Linked DNA regions of Homo sapiens: all the other regions are linked to region 1. The links are contacts of gene promoters, found by promoter capture Hi-C in blood cells and fetal thymus (Javierre and others, 2016). All regions are on one chromosome and are shown on one strand. Each heading gives the region's core, a stretch centred on a gene start or on the middle of the fragment in contact. The rest is flanking DNA. Distances are from core to core; before and after follow the strand shown.

Region 1 (2,701 bases), core at 146-2,645:
TATTCCTTGAATAAATGAAAAGGGTAACTGATTTGTATTAAACCCATTTTGAACTTAGTAAATAGCAGTTAAAACATCTACAGTCAAATGAAGTACTGTAGCAACCATAATTTCAGCAATTAAGCAGTGAAAGATCTTCCAATCCTTTCCTCCACAAAGATAGAAGTTAATTTTGCTGCATCCCTGGACACCCCGTTGCCAACGACCCAGCATTCCGTTGGTAAGTGAGGCTGGAGGTTGGAGTGGGAGAAATTTCGTGGAAGCTAAGTTCGCAAAGCAGGTACGTTTTTTTTTTTTTTTTAAACGGTTATTTGGGATGAGGAGTACAACGGAACCTAATGTTCCCTCATGCCACCTACAGCACTGCTACTGTTCCCATATCCTTCAACTGGGCATGAAGGCAGCTTCCCACTCACTCTGACAGTGGTGCACCCTGTACCCCCACCCCTCTCTTCAATACCCCAGGGCTAAACGGCCCGAAGCTCCTCTCTACCGGCTGGTGCGCATTCTGGGCCAGGGCGAGCCAAAAGGCAGAAGGGCCTTCGTGCTGCAGTGTCTGGTGAAGACTCAGGCTTAGCCTGGAAGAAGTTTCCAGGCCAACGTGAAGTTTTCCTGTCTTGGGTACATGCGAGCCCCACGCGTCTGCGAGTTTGGGTTAGTGTGTCAACAGGGTCAGTCCCCGTATCTACTTTGCGAAAGCTTCGAGGCGAGCGTGAAGTCAAGGGCTGCGGTGGATGGGGGTAAAAGGCCTCCTCGTCCCACTGCCTGCACCGTCTTGGGGTAACCCCTAACCCCCAGCCGGCGTTTCCCTTTAATGCGCGTGCCCGGCAAGGTCCTCGCGTCCCCTCCCCTCAAGCCACCCCGTCAGCCTCGGTTTCCCCCACTTCTCCCCGTCCTTGTCGTTCCTTCCCCGTGGGACGCCCCTCGCTCACCCCCGTCAGAGCCCAGTCTGCGCGCGGGACCCAGCTGTCACTTTACTTTTCCTCGCCGCCTCCCCACCCCCTCTCCCGACCGGCGGGGCAGCCCGCCCGGGCGCGCTCCCGCCCCCGCCCCCTCGCGGCCGCGCGCCGGAGGAGGAGGGGCGGGGGGAGGAGGGAGGCGCGCGGCGCCGCATGGCCGACGTGGGGCTCGCGCTCTCGCGGTCTCTCCCGGGCGGGCGCGCAGGCACGCGCACTCGCGGGTGCGCGCGCGGACGGCCGGGCGGCGGCGGCTCCCGGAGGTGGTGGCTTCACTTTCCAGGACTCAGGGGCAGCCACAGCGACAGCCGCGGGCAGCAGCCTCAGGAGCCGGAGCTGGAACGGCCGGGGGCGGCGGCAGCGGCGGCGCTGAGGGTGAGTCCGGGCGGGCGCGAGCGCGGCGGGGACAGGCGTGGTCGGGTGCGTGGTGCGTGGGTCCGGCTTTCGGTGACTAGACGGTCCGCAGGGGACATCCCGTCCCTGGGGCCTCCCCAGTCTCCCTCCCCCTCGCGCCTGGGCAGCTCTCTCCCAGGGCTTCGGCTCGAGCCTGCGACCTGCACGGACACCCCCCCCTCAGGTATTCGCTCGGGCCGCGCCGGTGCCTCCCCTCCTCGGGCGTCCTCCCTCTCGCTGACGTCCTCCTCACTCCCCCGACCTCCCCTCCGCGTCGCAGGTCTCTGCTTACACCGCTCGTGCCCTAGTTCCCTCCTTCCTCGCTCCCCGTGCCCGGTTCCCTACGCCCCCTCCCGCGAGCCTCCTGCCCCCGTTTCTCGCCCTTTCTACCCCTCCCCCTTCTTCCCATCCCCCCCTTCTGCCTCTTCTCTCCCTGTCCTCCTTCTACCCCCTTCCGTTCTCAGTTCCCCATCCTTCTCAACCCTCCCAGCGCTTTCCTTCTCCTAGCCGCATCCTGGAACTAAGTCTTTTCAAAAGTACAGGATAAATGTCACGGTGGAAAGTGCCCGGCTTGATCTTTTGCTATTTTCCCTAATTGCATAATTGCTGCACATGGTGTGTCTCCTGGCGAGTGCCGGGTTTGGCTCCTTCGCCGCCGCACCCCGGTGGCCCGCCCGGAGAAGACCTTGTGGGGTATATTTGTGTGTGTCCTGGTGAGGGGTGTGTGTTGTATTGGTCTTTTGTGATGCCTGGCGCTTGTCACAGTTTGGAACCGAAGCCCATTTTTCTCTGGTCTCTTCTCTGCAGCCCCCACTGGCCTGGTTTGAAACTGGATTCCCTCTGTCCTCTCCCCCTTCCCGCCCACCCCACTTCTCCCCCTCTTTTCTCCGATCTCTCTCATAATGTTTTGATCTTTTTGCCCTTTACCATTTCTAATGAAGATAAAGCGTGGCTTCTTGTGGCTTTTTTCCCCCACGACCAACCAGAAATGTCCAATCCATCTTCCCTTAAGGAAATTAAGGCTGCTTTAGAAAGACATCATCCTGTGCTCGGTGGCTGTTAGACCCATTTGCATGTTTTCAAGATTCATCGTTTTGTATTGTGTATTCTTGAGAGTCTACTAAAATATTTTTATTTAAAAGTACGAAAGGAAGTGCTAGGGTTTACCCTCAAAGTATCTCGCGGTTCTAAAGGATTTTACGCTCTTCTTAGTTTTTAATCCCTGATTTCTTTAAAAAGTATGTTTCTAGATATGTGATAATTCAGTCTGGACTTTGTGAATCTAAATATTTGCCTTTACTACGGCAATTTGGATGCTCCTTGGCTCTTTGGAATTCTGTATGTGGGCTGAC
Region 2 (2,700 bases), core at 200-2,699, 330 kb after region 1:
TCATGTGCCCAAGAAAAAAATCAAGTGTATGTTAACCAATAGCCTGGGCTATTTTGTCTGATAAAATAGGCAATTTTATTAGACAAAAATTGTCTATAGATACTGTTAATAAACACTTTGTCTAACAAAATATAACTTTACATTTTCTTGTAGGTTACCTTCCGAACAAGAATCTATCACTGTAATATTAACAGCCAAGGTGTGATCTGTCTGGACATCTTAAAGGACAACTGGAGTCCGGCTTTAACTATTTCTAAAGTTCTCCTCTCCATCTGCTCACTTCTTACAGATTGCAACCCTGGTAAGAGACTTTAAATCTAGTATGAATTGGAGCTTGTCAAGATTTAAATGTCAGACCCTTAGTAACTTGTTTACTACTGCTACTACCACTACCACCACTGCTTCTACTACTATTATTGTTAAATTTTCATAGTATGTAACTATTTTCTTTTTAAATTGGGTCTTCTCATTAGTGTTTTTAAGACCTATCATTTGCCAAAAAGGAAAAAGTATAGTGTGGTAAAAAAAATAATGAAAAATCATTTTAGATGGGAAAGTACGTTTAAAGAATGAATTAAGTTATCCTGCCAAATAATAATAAAAATTCAAGTTGAATAGCTTAATCTTTAATTAGATGCCTACTAGAAGATGTTAATTTGAGGAATGTGGGCTATTAAAATCTGATAACAACCAGGCAGCACCATGCAGACGTGACCTTTTTGGCATCCTAGTAACTGTGCATCCTGACAAGCTATTATAACGGTCCTGAATGGTCTGTTCTAGGAAATACCCCAAAAGTAAACAAGGAAATACACCTCCCAAGAAAACGAAAAAGTCTATAGCCAGGCCTTTATGGCTTGCTGGTGTGCTTACCACTGAAAATTCTTAATTCCTGGGCCATGTCTTTACAAATTGGGTTTATTTTAGAAAATACAAAAATCCAAAGATAGCTATAGGGTTTTCATTGATGTTCTCAGTGGGAGAATTATTTTATGAGTAATTAATAGCTTAAATATTGCATGAGATTCCCTCTTCTACAATCATGAGTAAACTCTGTTCACTGGATACATGAAATTTTACACAAATGGAAATGACGAGTATCAGTGGGGTTGCTTAGGATCCTGGCTGTTTTATAAAACATCAAGAAATAACAGTCTTTCTACTTTTATATTTCTTTATTTTTCAGCAGTAAAATCTTTTTTAAAGTAGCAAATTAGTATTTTTTTTTTTTTTTTTTTTTTGAAACTGAGTCTCACTGTGTCACCCAGGCTGGAGTGCAGTGGCACGATCTTGGCTCCCGCAACCTCCGCCTCCTGGATTCAAGCGATTCTCCTATCTTAGCCCCCCAAGTAGCTGGGATTACAGCCGTGTGCCGCCAAGCCCAGCTTATTTTTGTACTTTTAGTAGAGACGGGGTTTCACCGTGTTGGCCAGCCAGGTCTCGAACTCCTGACCTTGTGATCCGCCCGCTTTGGCCCCCCAAAGTGCTGGGATTACAGGCATGAGCCACTGTACCCAGCCTGCCCAAAAAATAAAATTGTGCAGGATCATTATAAAATATTTTTTGAATTAATTCATACTTTACTACAGACAGTAAAGTCCAATAATGTTATACTAATTTAAAGTTAATTTTGTTCTTTCAGTCCTGTTGTTCCCATTTTAATCCCATTTGTCTGTGACTGTGTATAACCTTGTATAACCTCATTTGGAGGTAATGTTGCAAGAAGGCTTTTTTTTTTTTTTTTTTTTTGAGGTGATTTCGAAGCCTGGCCTGCTTTGCCTCCAAGTCAGCTGAAATGGAATCTGTTACCCTGAATAAGCCTGTATATGACAGCCTGTTCTCTCTACAGATATTCCTGCTTAAAGGAATAGATTCATTCCACCAAAGCCTTCTCTCAGCAATCAAAAAGACTTCTGTTCAGTGAACTAGTTTTTTTTTTTTGCTCCGTTTCAGAAAATTACAAATGCATTCTGCAAAAACTTAAAAATCACTCCTAACTAAAGCAGAACCACATAAGTAAAAGAAATAGATTTTGAAATAATGCTATTGATAGTAAGAACAAGCCTAAAAATAATGTTCCATAAAACCAAAGACAGCCTGCCTCATATGAGACTAGAAGAGAATTTGTAAAATACATGCTAACATTTAGTTTATCACACTTTTTAACACATAAAAATAAAGTTTCCTAATTGGTTTTTATGAATGTTGACACTTCTAGAATCTTAAATAGAGTTGTTTATTTTAAAGTAGTCAAATGTCCATTCTTTTGCTTAATGGACTTATTTCACACTGTTATCTGGTACACTTTCAATCTCTGTAGGTTTTTTTACCTACAGAGGTAGGAAAGATTAGGTTAGATTGAAGTTTATCTTAAATCTATCTTCAAATTATCACAAAAACAAGTTTGATAGAATAGGAATAAATAAGATTTTCCTACACTGAATCTGTAGAGCTATTTTAACCCGGAAATGCTGTCACCTCAAAAATAGGCCTTGTATAATGATACAAATTTAACTCACTTAAAAAATACTTTCTCACTCTTATCCATACATAAACTTATTTTCTAAATCTTTTTCATACTCTTTTTGTAATTTGCACTTGTCTCTTTAAAGAATTTTTGGTCCATTCCAACACAGATGTTCTTTAGGGTATGACTACCCATCCTTATCAGCATGATATTTGTAGACAGCAGATGTAGAT
Region 3 (2,700 bases), core at 83-2,582, 410 kb after region 1:
GACTTGGGGGACAGGGCTGGAATGGGGGAAGAGGAAAGGACAGGCCATTGATTTTGCTCCTTGACTAAGCAACAGAGCCAAGGGGATTGTGGCTGACCGCAGGGCTGCACTCGGCCTCGAAGCCAGAGTGTGCTGCTAAAATGCCCGAGTGGAAATCTTCTATCTGGATTACATTTAAAATAAACTCTGATAGGTTGTCTTGTTTTCGTTTCTATTCTTTATATATTTAGGATTTATTTAGTACCTGTTTCTAAAAACAATTTATGGACTCTGCTAATACTAATGTGCAGGTTTTCTTGGGAAATGTTTAGGTTCTGAAACCTCAATAAATGTTCCAGCCCTGGAAAAATATGCTAATTTGTGGTTCACATTACTATGATATGTTCAAAAATAGCTTAATCGGCTGGGCGCAGTGGCTCACGCCTGTAATCCCAGCACTTTGGGAGGTTGAGGCAAGTGGATCACGAGGTCAGGAGATAGAGACCATCCTGGCTACCACGGTGAAACTCCATCTCTACTAAAAATACAAAAAAAGTAGCCGGGCTTGGTGGCACACGCCTGTAATCCCAGCTACTTGGGAGGCTGAGGCAGGAGAATCACTTGAACCCAGGAAGCGGAGGTTGCAGTGAGCCGAGATTGCGCCACTGCACTCCGGCCTGGGAGACAGAGCAAGACTTCATCTCAAAAAAAAAAAAAAAACTTAATCAACGAATGTTTTAAATATCAGGATAATAGAGAAAAAGAAGTTAAGGGAGAAATTGTGTTTCCACCTACATTTTACATGGCCTAAAAATCTATGGCTCAAGAACTCAAGTTGTCACAAAGAAAATAAGCTTGGGCAATACCTCCCCTACACAGACATCAAAAGGGCCTACTAAGCACAAAAGAGGTAAGTCTAGGAGAAAAAAAATTAGAGGGTTCTACTTCATAGAATGATTTTGAGTGTCTACTATATGAAAGGCAAATTTTGCTTTACTCTGATATTCACCAATTTTATAATTTTCCTTCTAATATTTGAGAGTGTGACGTTTCCCTTAGCCTTTAACTTAAAGAGGTGGGCACATTGCTTGGCCATCTCTCTGTGGATAGGACCTTCCTAAAAATGACAGCCCCTCGGTGACCTCCCAGCCTCCAGGGCCTGGGCGGGTAACAGCCTTTTAAAAGTTCCGTCCTCTGGGGATTTGAAAATACAGCCCAGGCCATATATAGAAGAGCAGAGTCCTCAATGGGCTTTGGATTCAGACAGAATTTCATGGCTGACTTGGGTTTAGGGAGGTCATTAAACCTCTAGGAGTTTGTAAGGATTAAATGAGAAAATTTAGGTTAAATATGTAGCCCAGCATCGGGCACATGGTGAGTGCTGAGTAAACGGGATCTGCTGTGTTATTATTATTCATTGTTGTTATTGCTGGCATTATTATTTTATGGGCATAACGAATGAGCTGGCAACATCAGTACAAACTCAAGCCAGAATCTGACACGGCCAAAATAAAACCAGAGCCGGCAACCCAGCAAAGGAGCTGGTGCTCAACAGGCCTTTAGAGTCCTCTCTCCAGCTGTGGCTGGCCGGCTGCCCGCTCTCCCTGCTCCTCTCAGCTCCAGAGAAAAATGGCTTTTAGATAAAGCTCCTTTGAAGCTGGGAACTCGCTGTAGTGCCTAAGCCTAGGGACAGCCCCCAAAGGTGTTTTTTTTCCACTTCTGTTGACGGACAGTCTGCAATATACGTATCAGCCACATTAATCATTTTTCTTTTGGGGGCCTGCTCAAGAAGGGCCTGGTTAGTCTGTGAAGGAATTCCAGAGCGAGTAGGTGGCCTTGCATCTGAGAAAGAGGAAGCTTGTTTCAGGGCCAGACAAGCGAGTGTGAAACTTCCTGCCGAGGCAAAAGGGGGCGGGAGGGGTGCAGACTTCTGGTGGGGGGTCTACGTGGAGCAGGTGAAAGGACCCTAGCGAAAGGTCTCACCCCTCCTCTGGTCAGGGTAGACTTCCATGTCCTGCAGAGAACGAGCATCTCTGGGGCTTCCGATAACTCAGCCCCAGAGGACTCCATTGGCAGGGCCACTTCAAGCTGGTTATTGCTCAGAAAAAATTCCCGGGCCCTGAACCCTGAACGGGCTGCCTTTCCTCAGAGCCAGAGGGAACGGCAGAGAGGACATGCCTTCCTGTTCTTGATTGTTTTAAAGGAGCCATGTGTCCAATAATTAGGTTCTGTGAAAAAGGAGAGAGAGGGGGAGAAGAAAAGAAGACTAGAACGCAATGTGCTCCCCTTAGCTTGCGTAAAATTGTATAAATAAGACTTCTCAAGCGCAGTTTAGAATAAAAAAAAGAAAAAGGAGTTGTTTGCTCCAGAGTGTGGTGTGGTGAGGCGGGGTAGGAACACGTGGATGTGACTATCAACTTTCCTCGTCAAACAATCTTTCTCCCATGATTTGACAGCGAATCACCTCCTTACTGGGAAGTGAGTTTCATTTCAAGCTCGCATAAATAAAAAAAAAAAATGGGCTATAACCCTTTTATGGAGTGAGTGAAAAATGTTTTGTGTAGGTAATTAGAGCATAAACTAGAATTCACCAGGTGCTTTTATATCATTTCCATAAAGTTTTATTGAATTAAGTTAACAAGGTTTTGGATTTATATGCCACATTTCTTCAGAGGGAACAAAACACGTTCATATATATTTCCTTGATTTTTAAAAATCCCA
Region 4 (2,805 bases), core at 140-2,639, 390 kb after region 1:
AAGAAAATATATTTAAATATTGCAAATGCCACTTCTAAACCAAAATACCTGAGAATATTTTTTGTCTTTTTAATAACGATTTTACCATTCATTTTATTTAAAAACATTTCTCAGCATAGCAGGGCACTGTATGGTCTCTGATGCACTACTCAACCCTCTAGTTGTAGTAGAGGGAGCCACAGACAGTACATAAATGCATTGGGCAGAGCTATATTCCAGTGAAACTTTATTTACCACCATAGGCATGGGATTTGGCCCATGGGTTGTAGTTTGCCAATCCCTGACACAGACCAACATAGACTGGGGGCTGGATGAAAAACAAATAACGATGTGTCATTTCTTTCTTTAACATAAAATAAATTCAATATGGTACAACACTGATTTTTGGAAAGTTGCTCAGAATGTTTAATTGCCTACAGTTTCTCACCACAAAGTTTTTTATTTTTACTTCAGATTTTAAAATTCAGCACTAAAGGCATTGAACCATTGAAAATAAAATTTTATTAAACTGCTTTTTTCCCCTACTTTTGGCTGATTAAACCAGACCCATAATACTAATACTTTAAAGACAATCTTTATAGGCAGTTTTTAAATTAAATTTTTTTTTTTTTGGTCTGTAGCAACAAGGTCTCACTGTGTTGCCCAGGCTGGTCTCAAACTCCTGGCCTCAAGTGATCCTCTCACCACAGCCTCCAAAACTGCTAGGATTATATAGGCTTGAGCCACTGTAGCCAGCCAACACACATTTTAAGTGATAAATATATTACATTGCACATTTCACATCTACTTGTACATCAGACCATTTAAAAATGTGTTATTAGGCCAGGCTTGGTGGCTCACACCTGTAATCCTAGCTTGGGACGCCGAGGTAGAGATTGCTTGAGCCCAGGATTTCGAGACCAGCCTAAGCAACATGACAAAACCCAGGCTCTACAAAAAAATACAAAAATGAGCTGGGCATGGTGGTGCACGCCTGTAGTCCCCGCCACTCGGGAGGCTTAGGTCAGAGGATCACCTGAACCCAGGAAGTCGAGGCTGCAGTGAGCCATAATTGCGCCAGTGCACCCCAGCCTGGGCAACAGAGCAAGACGCTGTCTCAAAAACAAAACAAAATTTGTGATATTTAGGAACCAAAGATTACAACAACTCTAGTAGGAATTCTAGTCACTGACCTGTTTGTTTTCCTGTGACCCATTTTTAGGTTTAATGCCCATCTGTGATATGAAGAGGCTGTAAAACTTCTCTCCCCAACTTTATGATTTATTCATACTTCATGACAAATGTACACAGCCCTCAAAATGTAAAAGCTAGAGAAACTCCAGAGAAACCAACAAACTTAGTAGAGCTGAAGTCTAGATTTCAAATAACATGGTCATTTTACTTGAAATCTGTAATTGCAGCAGGCAATACAATTCCAATAAATTTTTTAAAATGCATGTAAAATAAGATTTAAGAGTAATTTGACACTCAGTAAACAAAATTGTTTAGCTTAAAAATACAGGGATAACATTTCTAAAATTTAGGAATTATTTTGTACCATAATAATGCTGAATTTTTCACACTAGTTACTGCTAGATATAGTATTTGTAGCTATGTTAGATAAAATGTTGGCAGATCCTTGACTGAGGCAAGACCATTGGTTATTGAGGAAATGGTTTGAGATTATATTTGTTGATCTTAAATCATTCAAAACGTTGTGTCCTTAATTTGTCATCAAGCTGCAAACAAGGGGAAGATTTTTATCTGTTCTACAGGAATCCACTGATGATAGCAACTGCAGAAGTAGTCAGTCTTTTCTTCTTATTCCAAGATTAGGAAGTAAACATAGAAGTTCATCACGTAAACTTATTTAGGAATTAAAAAGAAAGGAAATAATATGTATTCAGGATGTACTATACCAGGCTATAATAAGTCATCTAATAAAAGCTCAGCCTACCTTTTAAGGGTGTAGGTGGCCCTCAGTCGCAAAAAGCTAACCAGGTGCCAAAGCGAGATTCCCATTCAAGCATGTGACACCAGAGCCCTTACTGTCAACGACAAAACCACATAAACCTTTCCTTTGACTATGAGGGCATACCATAAAAATGAATTGGCATAATTCAGTCTTAGAGTCAAGGAGGAGCACAATTCCTAGGTGGTGGGGTTTTGCCATCTTCAAAAAATGGGAAAAAAAAATGTTGAAGAAAATGTGGACTTGATATTAGATGGGAGACCAAACAGGAGGGACCAGCATTCTGATCTTAGAGGTACTGCATGCAGATTTGATCAGCCATGGGGAAACAGGTCAGTTGGAAAACCCCTGAACTTCTCTGCATCTCAGTACTGCAATAAGAGGGGTGTTAATTATTGTCAGGCATGGCAACTTTTTGATGTCTGTATCTTTAAAAAGAGAGGTCTTCATACTTAATACTGAAAACAGTTGAAATTGCACCCAAAAAGCCCTACCAGATATCCTGACCACCTGCATTTTATTTCAAGGTAGCTTTGTAACTGTCAAAATGTCCTTACTGTACAGAACACTTTCATATGTGGACCAGGACTGCGAGCCGAATGAGCACACCCTATACCTCAGCTAGTCCTAGAATTGTCCTCAGAGGCATTGAAGAGCTGACCTAGTTATATTCTGAACCCTAACATTTTAAGCTACATCAGATCTGGAATCTTTGGGAGTTGAGACCATCAAGGAGCTTAGAGTAGCTTGGCCTCTGAGGACCTTCCATGGTAGCCATGCGTTTCCCCACATCCATGCCGCCACCTTGGGAGCCAACTGGAACATTCATTCTCTGTTAAGTAGAAGGAATGTTC
Region 5 (2,700 bases), core at 79-2,578, 480 kb after region 1:
GGTGGACCCTAAACCCAATATGACTGGTGAGCTGATAAGCAAAGGAGACATAGATAGGCACTCAGAGAGAATACCATATGACAACAGAAGCAGAGATTGGAGTGACACGGATACAAGTCATGGAACACCAAGGATTGCCAGCAATTCCAGAAACTGAAAGAAGGACATGGGACAGATTCTGCCCAAGAGCCGTCACGGAGACAGCATGGCCCTGCTGACATTGATTTTGGACTTCCAGCCTCCAGAGCTGTGACAGAATAAGGTAATGTTGTTTAAAGTCACCTGCCTTGTGGTACTTCCGTATAGCAGCCCTAGAAACTAATACACACTATGTTAAGATTATTTTGGTGCTACATTTTAATGATTTTTAAAAACTATGATTAGGGCCACGCACAGTGGCTCATGCCTGTAATCCCAGCACTTGGGAGGCCAAAGCAGGTGGATCACTTGATGTCAGGAGTTTGAGGCCTGCCTAGCCAACATGGTGAAACCTCGTCTCTACTAAAAATACAAAAATTAGCTGGATGTAGTGGCTGCATACCTATAGTTCCAGCTCCTTGGGAGGCTGAGGCAGGAGAATCGCTTGAACCTGGGAGGCAGAGGTTTCAGTGACCCAAGATCTCACCACTGCACTCCAGCCTGGATGACAGAGAGAAACTCCGTCTCAAATTAATTAATTAATTAATTAATAAAATAAAATAAAAACTATGATTAGGAGCTTTCTGTGACTCTCCTTTTCCCACCCCTCCCTACTATCTGAGAGTTGATGACATTTTCTGTTTTATTTCTTCCGTGTTTAATTGTATAGTCTCTGAGAACTAGATTTGATCTCAAGGACAGGAAAATGAAAAGGAACTCATCATGACTTCTGGGATGGTTAATATTAAGTGTCAACTTGATTGGATTGAAGGATGAAAAGTGTTGTTTGTGGGTGTATCTGGGTGTTGCCAGAAGAGATTAACTTTTGAGTTGGTGGGCTAGGAGAAGACCCACCCTCAGGAAGACCCACCCACAGTGTGGGCGGGCATCATCCAATCGGCCCCAGCTTGGCTGGAAAAAGCTGGCAGAAGAAAGTGGAAGGAGCTGACTGGCTGAGTCTTCCAGCTTTCATCCTTCTCCTATGCTGGATGCTTCCTGCCCTGGAACATCAGACTCCAAGTTCTTCGGCTTTTGGACTCTTGGACTTACACCAGTGGACTTACACCACTGAAGGCCCGAGAGCCCCTGTCAACTTCCCCTGTCAACTTTGAGGGTTGGGGACTCAGACTGAACCACTACTGGCTTCCTTGCTCCTCAGCTTGCAGACGGCCTGCCGTGGGACTTCACCTGGTGACTGTGTGAGTCAGTTCTCCTTAATAAACTCCCTTTCCTATATACATCTATCCTATTAGTTCTTTCCCTCTAGAGAACCCTTACTAATACAACATCCAACTTCAAATTGCTTTTTTTCAACCATAAACCTTGACTGGAGGTCAACCAAGTATTGGGTACTGTTCCAGGCACTTTAATTAAAAAGATAAAGTAAGGCACAGTTCTTGTCCTGAAAAATATCTGATTCTTAGGCTGAAAACAGACACACAGTCCCAAAACACTGTGATGAATGCTTTAAAGGGGTTTTTAGACTTCAGGTACACCAGAATCACCTGGAGGGCGTATTTAAACCCAAATGGGCTGGGCACAGTGGCTCACAACTGTAATCCCAGCATTTTGGGAGGCTGAGGCAGGAGGATCACTTGAGCCCAGGAGTTCAAGACCAGCGTGAGCAATATGGCAAAACCCCTTCGCTACAAAAAATACAAAAATTAGCTGGACATGGTGGTGCACACCTGTAGTCCCAGCTACTTGGGAGGCTGAAGTGGGAGGATTGTTTGAGCCCAGTAGGTTGAGACTGCAGTGAGCTATGGTCACGCCACTGCACTCCAGCCTGAGAAACAGGGCTAGACTTTGTCTCAAAAAAATTTTTTAAATAGGCCAGGTGCAGTGGCTCATGCCTGTAATCCCAGCACTTTGGGAGGCCGAGGCAGGAGGATCACCTGAGGTCAGGAGTTCGAGACCAGCCTGGCCAACATGGTGAAACCCCGTCTCTACTAAAAATACAAAAATTAGCCAGGTGGGCACCTGTAATCCCAGCTACTTAGGAGGCTGAGGCAGGTGAATCGCTTGAACCAGGGAGGCGGAGGCTGCAGTGAGCTGAAATGGCACCACTACACTCCAGCCTGGGAAACAAGAGTGAAACTCTGTCTCAAAAAAATAAAAATAAATAAATAAATAAATAACCTAAATGAGTGGGCCCCAACCCCAGAGCAATTGATTCAGAAAGTCGTGAGCAGGGTCTGAGAGTTTGTGTTTCCAGCCAGTTCCCAGGTGCTGCTGTTGCTGCTGCTGCTGGTGGTGGTGGCTGGGAACCACACTTCAAGAACCTCTGCTCTGAGAGAACAGTTTCAAATGTTAGAGGACTGGCATTTGAGCTGGCTTTAGGACAAGGAGTGAGGTTGGGTGTGGTGGCTCATGCCTGTAACCCCAGCAATTTGACAGGCTGAGGCAGGTGGATGGCTTGAGCCCAGGAGTTCAAGACCTTCCAGGCTCAAGCAATCCTCCCACCTCAGCCCCCACAAGCAGCTGGGACTACAGGCATGTACCACTATGTCCAGCTAATTTTTAAATTTTGTGTAGAGATGGAGTCTTACCATGTTGCCCAGG
Region 6 (2,700 bases), core at 102-2,601, 430 kb after region 1:
CTATGCTTTCTTTTGTTTCTTATAATTCGGGTATTTAAATCTCTTCTAAGAGTTTTATAGTTTTGTTTTTTTGTTCGTTTGTTTGTTTTTTCAGACAGAGTCTCACTCTGTCACCCAGGCTGGAGTGCAGTGGCATGATCCCAGGTCACTGCAATCTCTGTCTCCAGGGTTCAAATGATTCTCCTGCCTCAGCCTCCCTAGTAGCTGGCATTACAGGTGCCTGACACCACACCCAGCTAATTTTTGTGTTTTTAGTAGAGATGGGGTTTCACCATGTTGGTCAGCCTCGTCTTGAACTCCTGACCTCAAATGATCCGCCCTCCTCCGCCTCCAAAAGTGCTGGGATTACAGGCATGAGCCACCGCACCCAGTGAGTTTTATAGTTTTAACTCTTGCATTTAGCTCTCCAATACATTTGGAGTAAATGTTTGCATATGATATGAAATGCATTCTTTTGCATAAGGGTATCCAGTTGTTCCAGCACCATTTGTTGAAAAGATTATTCTTTTTCCACCGAATTGTTGTGGCACCCTGGTAGAAAACCAACTGATGATATATATAAAGCTTTGTTTCTGGATTCTCAATTCTATTCCATTGACCTATGTGACTATGTCTATGTCAGTACCACACTGTATTGATTACTATAACTTTTTTAAATTTATTTTTTATTTATTTATTTTTTTGAGACAAAGTCTTGCTGTGTCACCCAGGCTGGAGTGCAGTTGGCATGGTCACAGGTCATTGCAGCCTCTGTCTTCCTGGCTCATGCGATCCTCCCACCTCAGCTTCCTGAGTACCTGGAACCACAGGTGCGTGCCACCACACCTGGCTAATTTTTAAATTTTTGTTGTTGTTGTTGTTTTGTTTTTTTTTTTTTTGTAGAGATGAGGGCCACCCTATGTTGCCTGGTATGGTCTCGAACTCCTGGACCCAAACAGTCCTCCCACCTTGGCCTCCCAAAGTGCTGGGGTTACAGGCATGAGCCACAGCAACTGCCCTGATCACTGTAACTTTGGTAGCAAGTTTTGAAATCAGGAAATGTGAGTCCTCCAACTTTGATCTTCTTTTCCAAGGTTGTTTTGTCTATTCTGGGTCCCTTGCATTTTCATGAGAATTTTAGGATAAGTATATCAATTTCTACCACAGACCAGCTGGGATTATGATAGAGACTGCGTTGAATCTATAAATCCATTTGGGGAATGCTGCCATTTTAGTGATATTGAATCTTCCAAGCAATGATTTATACCATTCTAATGCATTTATTGAGGACTTTTAAATTTATTTCAGCAATATTTTATAGTTTTAAGTGTATAAATTGTGTATTTTTATTAAATTTATGCCTATTTTATTCTTTTTGATGCTACTATCAATTGAATTATTTTAATTTCCTTTTTGCAATATTTCTTTTTAGTGAGTAGAAATAAAATTGACTTTTGAATATTAATCTTATATCCTGTTACCTTGATGAGCTTGTTTACTAGTTCTATTAGTTTTTTAGTAGATTCCTTGGGATTTTTTATATACAAGATCATGTCATCTGTAAAAAGAGGTTGTTTTAATTCTTCCTTTCTACTATGCATGCTTTATTCTATTAATAGTGTGTATTACATTAATTGATTTCTGACTGTAAACTCACCTTGTATTCCTGTTATAAATCCCACTTGCTCATGGTATATAAACCTCCTTATATGTTGCTGTATTCTGTTTGCCAGTATTTTATGTTTGCATTTTTGAGAATTTTTGTATTCATAAGGGATGTTGGTCCTTTTTTCTTTTCTTGTAATGTCTTTGATTTTGGTATCAGGGTAAATACTAGCCTCAAAGTATGAGTTGGGAAGTGTATCAGTGAAGCCACTTGGACTTGAGTTTTCTTTCACAGGAAGTTTGAAAATTACTAATTTGATCTCTTTACCGGATATAGGTCGATTCAGATTTTCTACTTCTCTAATCAGTTTCAGTAGTACATGTCTTTCTGTGAATTTTCCATCTCATCTAAATTATCTGCTTTTTTTGGCATGCAGCCTGTGGTATGCCCTTATAATCCCATGTATTTCCGTAAAGTCAGTAGTAGTGTCTCCTCTTTCATTTCTGATTCTAGCAATTTGAGCCTTCTCTCTTTTTCTCTTGGTCTATCTAGCTAAAGCTTTGTCATTTTTGTCCATCTTTTCAATAATCAACTTTGGTTTTACTGATTGTCTCTATTGTTTTCCTACTTTTTATTTTATTTTATTAATTTCTACTCTAATTTTTATTCTTTTCTTCCTTCTACTTGCTTCAGTTTAGTTTGCTCTTCTTTTGCCAGAGTCCTAGGGGAGAAGTTTAGGTTACTGATTGGAGATCATTCCTCTTCGTTAACATAGGCATTTATAGCTATAAAATTCCCTCTCAGCACTACTTTAGCTGTATCCCATAAGTGTTGGTATGCCGTGTCTTTATTTTCATTTAGCTCTAAGTACTTTCTGACTTCCTTTGGATTTCTCTGCCAGCTCAAATTTACTGTTGAACCCCTTTATAAATTTTTCATTTCTGTTTGTACTTTCTATGTTCAGAATTTCTATGTGGTTCTTTTTAATAGTTTCTCTTTATTGATATTTTCTTTGTTGTTGTTTGTTTTGTTTTGTTTTGTTTTTTTGAGACAGGATCTCACTCTGTTGCCCAGGCTGGACTGCGGTGACGTGATCTCGGCTCACTGCAACCTCT
Region 7 (2,700 bases), core at 173-2,672, 370 kb after region 1:
TCTTTTGGTACAGGTTGAGTGTCCCTAATCTGGATATTGAAAATGCTCCAAAATCTGAAACTTTTTGAGCACCTACATGACTCTCAAAGGAAATGCGCATTGGAGCATTTCAGAATTTGGATCTTCAGATTAGGGCTACTCAGCCTGTATTAGCACTTGCAGTGGATAACATTAAAACCATGTTTGTTCCAGCAGCCTTTTAACATGTGGTGGCTGCTCTTCTCTCTCATTTTGAACATTTGTGTGAATACATGTGTAGACAATGCCAGATGTTTCCTTCATATATTATGTAGTTTGTCTTTGGCTAAAAGAGATTTTTAGTCCCAAGTTACATTCAGAATGCTTACCAATATTTAAAAATCAGTATTCAGATACTAACAGTAAGTCCAAGTGATGATGTTATGCTTACTATATGTGATAATAACCTATATGATCTTTGATCTCTACAAGTTCAGTAAACCTGGAAATGACATTGAATGAGGCATTTGCCTATTCCGTCTTCCAAAAGCTAAAGCAAATTTTGACCGAGTACTGAGGCCAAAGCTTAGTTATAGTGTGTTTTCAATATTTATAGTGTATAAAGTGTTCCTTCATATTAGAAAAAATGGACTAAGGACATGAACAAAATACTCACAGAAGAAATACAAATGGTGAACAAACTTGAAAAAATGTTAAACTTCAGTAGGTATCAAATTAAATACAGGTACAACGACAGATTATTTTTCTGTTAGTTTGGAAAAAAAACAAAAAAGCTGATAATGAGTTGGTGAGAATGCCCAGAAAGAGAGTAAATTGTACATACTTTTATTGAAGGGTGGTTTGGCAGCATTTACCAGACATTTAAAATGTATACAGTGGTCCAGGAATCTGCCCTCCAGAAGTACTCAAATATGTCCTCAAAGATTTATACAAGACTGTAATATAGTTCTAACAGCAAAAAATCAAAATCTAAATGTGATCATAAGGGGAGTGGAAAAATGAATGCTGACTCACTATGCAAAGGAATGCCTTATAGTTACTAAAACTAATGTGCTAAGTCAATATGTGCTGTCTCAGAAACACAGCTACGGTACATTGTTACAGAAGAAAATGCGAGTTGCAGAATGTCTGTGCGATTTCTATTTAAATAAATAAAATATGGAAGGATGAGGGTCAAACCATTAACTGTAGTTGCCTCAAGGTGGAAGGGGGTATTGAGTTGAAGAGAAGGTAGTATTTTTTTACTTTATACATACTTCTGTATTATTTGAATTTATTATAATGCACATCTGTTATGTTTTAATTTTATAAAAGATTTAAATAAAACTAGGCTAGACCAAACCATGGAATAAAAGTATTATGAAAGAAACAAAAATTAATTATTTCTCTCATTTTAAGACAACTCACAGATAGCCTCCAGTGACTTGGGGAGCGAAAAGAATAACATTAATCAAAGATACAGTGGAACTGCCGGAGGACAGTGGATCATAGCCTTGAAGAATCCAAGAAATGGCAAAGTGCAGGCCACAAATTCCAATAACAAAATAATTATGTTTAAAAAAACATAATTTTTAAATTATGTTTACATAATTAGAGGAGAAAAGTGAAAGAATGCTGTTAAAATCACCACCATGTCCCTATCTCTGACTTCCTAGTAATCCTTGAGTAGAGACAGGACAAACATCTATGATGCAATCTATTTATAATGCTAGTGCTGCAAAGGAACACCTGCCTTGTGGAGTGACTGTGCTATATATGGCTGTTGTTGTGTGTATACCTTATCTACTTATATTCTTCTAATCATCCATCCATCCATGCAGTAAACATATAGGGTAAGAGGGATACAGAGATGACAGACAGTCCTGTGAGGGGAGAAACTTGTTTAGCACTGGTTCTCCAGTACCTGGAACAGAGTAGGGGCTCAATAAATATTTGTTGAATGAGTGCATGGGCTCCCGTCCAGTGAGAAAACAGAAAAGTAAACAGACAGCTAAAAGGCAGTACTGGCACACCTCGTTTGACAGTGCTTTTGTGTTTCACATATACTGTTGTTATTGTTTTTTTTTTTTAACAAATTGAAGGTTAGTAGCAAGCCCGTGTCTGTCAGCCCCATTTTTCCAACAGCGTGTGCTCTTTCATGTCTCTGTGTCACATTTTGGTAATTCTCACAATATTTCAAACTTTATTATTATATCCTTTATGGTGATCTGTGATCAGTGATCTCTGATGCTACTATTGTAATTGATTTGTAATGGCCTCTAAGTGTTCAAGTGAAAGGAAGAGTCAAATGTCTCTCACTTTAAATTGAAAGATGGAGATAATTAAGCTTATTGAGGAAAGCATGTCAAAAGCCAAAACAGGCCAAAAGTTAGGCCTCTTGTGTCAAGCATTAGCCAGTTGTGAATGGAAAGGAAAAGTTCTTAAAGAAAATACAAAGTGCTACTTTGATGAACACAGGAATGATTTAAAAAAAAAAAAAAGCAACACACCCTTATTGCTGATAGGGATTTAGTGGTCTGGATAGACAGTCAGACCAGCTACAACACTCCCTTAAGCCAAAGCCTAATCCAGCATAAGGCCGTAACTCTCTGCAATCCTGTGAAGGCCGAGAGGTGAGGAAGCTGCAGAAAAAAAGTTGGAAGCTAGCAGAGGTAGGCTCACAAGGTTTTAAAAAAGAAGCCATCTTCCTAACATAAAATTGCAAGGTTGAGGGTGACCAAG

The links. The method cuts DNA at HindIII sites, captures the fragments that hold promoters and counts their contacts. A CHiCAGO score of 5 or more calls a contact.
Region 2: a contact is called between a fragment that was not itself captured here and the fragment with the promoter of UBE2E2 in region 1, in 2 of 17 cell types (naive B cells and total B cells). The highest score is 6.3, in naive B cells.
Region 3: a fragment that was not itself captured here is called in contact with the fragment with the promoter of UBE2E2 in region 1 in 6 of 17 cell types (endothelial precursors, naive B cells, total B cells and 3 more); the score reaches 7.5 in endothelial precursors.
Region 4: a fragment that was not itself captured here is called in contact with the fragment with the promoter of UBE2E2 in region 1 in 3 of 17 cell types (endothelial precursors, total B cells and naive B cells); the score reaches 5.9 in endothelial precursors.
Region 5: a fragment that was not itself captured here is called in contact with the fragment with the promoter of UBE2E2 in region 1 in 1 of 17 cell types (endothelial precursors); the score reaches 5.9 in endothelial precursors.
Region 6: a contact is called between a fragment that was not itself captured here and the fragment with the promoter of UBE2E2 in region 1, in 2 of 17 cell types (endothelial precursors and total B cells). The highest score is 6.6, in endothelial precursors.
Region 7: a contact is called between a fragment that was not itself captured here and the fragment with the promoter of UBE2E2 in region 1, in 1 of 17 cell types (endothelial precursors). The highest score is 6.8, in endothelial precursors.

What each region holds. Positions count from the first base shown.
Region 1 is chr3:23,201,932-23,204,632 of GRCh38, forward strand. It overlaps UBE2E2 (ubiquitin conjugating enzyme E2 E2), which reads left to right and starts at 1,396. Exons shown (of 6, transcript NM_152653.4): 1 at 1,396-1,533. UBE2E2-DT (UBE2E2 divergent transcript) reads right to left here and starts at 1,062. Exons shown (of 2, transcript NR_136176.1): 1 at 933-1,062. RefSeq lists enhancers at 69-1,044, 457-516 and a silencer at 867-1,556. The HindIII fragment of the contact is 2,247 bases long and covers 698-2,701 here.
Region 2 is chr3:23,532,401-23,535,100 of GRCh38, forward strand. UBE2E2 (ubiquitin conjugating enzyme E2 E2) reads left to right here. Exons shown (of 6, transcript NM_152653.4): 5 at 154-301. Among named protein-coding and RNA genes, the nearest start is that of UBE2E1, 270 kb to the right of the region's middle. The HindIII fragment of the contact is 7,382 bases long and covers 1-2,700 here.
Region 3 is chr3:23,610,404-23,613,103 of GRCh38, forward strand. No RefSeq gene overlaps it. Among named protein-coding and RNA genes, the nearest start is that of UBE2E1, 190 kb to the right of the region's middle. The HindIII fragment of the contact is 1,003 bases long and covers 832-1,834 here.
Region 4 is chr3:23,591,414-23,594,218 of GRCh38, forward strand. It overlaps UBE2E2 (ubiquitin conjugating enzyme E2 E2), which reads left to right. Exons shown (of 6, transcript NM_152653.4): 6 at 1-381. Among named protein-coding and RNA genes, the nearest start is that of UBE2E1, 210 kb to the right of the region's middle. RefSeq lists enhancers at 2,439-2,488, 2,509-2,618. The HindIII fragment of the contact is 3,698 bases long and covers 1-2,805 here.
Region 5 is chr3:23,680,388-23,683,087 of GRCh38, forward strand. LOC124909353 (a long non-coding RNA gene) reads left to right here. Exons shown (of 2, transcript XR_007095844.1): 2 at 1-1,376. Among named protein-coding and RNA genes, the nearest start is that of UBE2E1, 120 kb to the right of the region's middle. The HindIII fragment of the contact is 5,525 bases long and covers 1-2,700 here.
Region 6 is chr3:23,635,520-23,638,219 of GRCh38, forward strand. No RefSeq gene overlaps it. Among named protein-coding and RNA genes, the nearest start is that of UBE2E1, 170 kb to the right of the region's middle. The HindIII fragment of the contact is 1,579 bases long and covers 563-2,141 here.
Region 7 is chr3:23,574,886-23,577,585 of GRCh38, forward strand. All of the region lies in intron 5 of UBE2E2 (ubiquitin conjugating enzyme E2 E2), which reads left to right. Among named protein-coding and RNA genes, the nearest start is that of UBE2E1, 230 kb to the right of the region's middle. The HindIII fragment of the contact is 1,762 bases long and covers 542-2,303 here.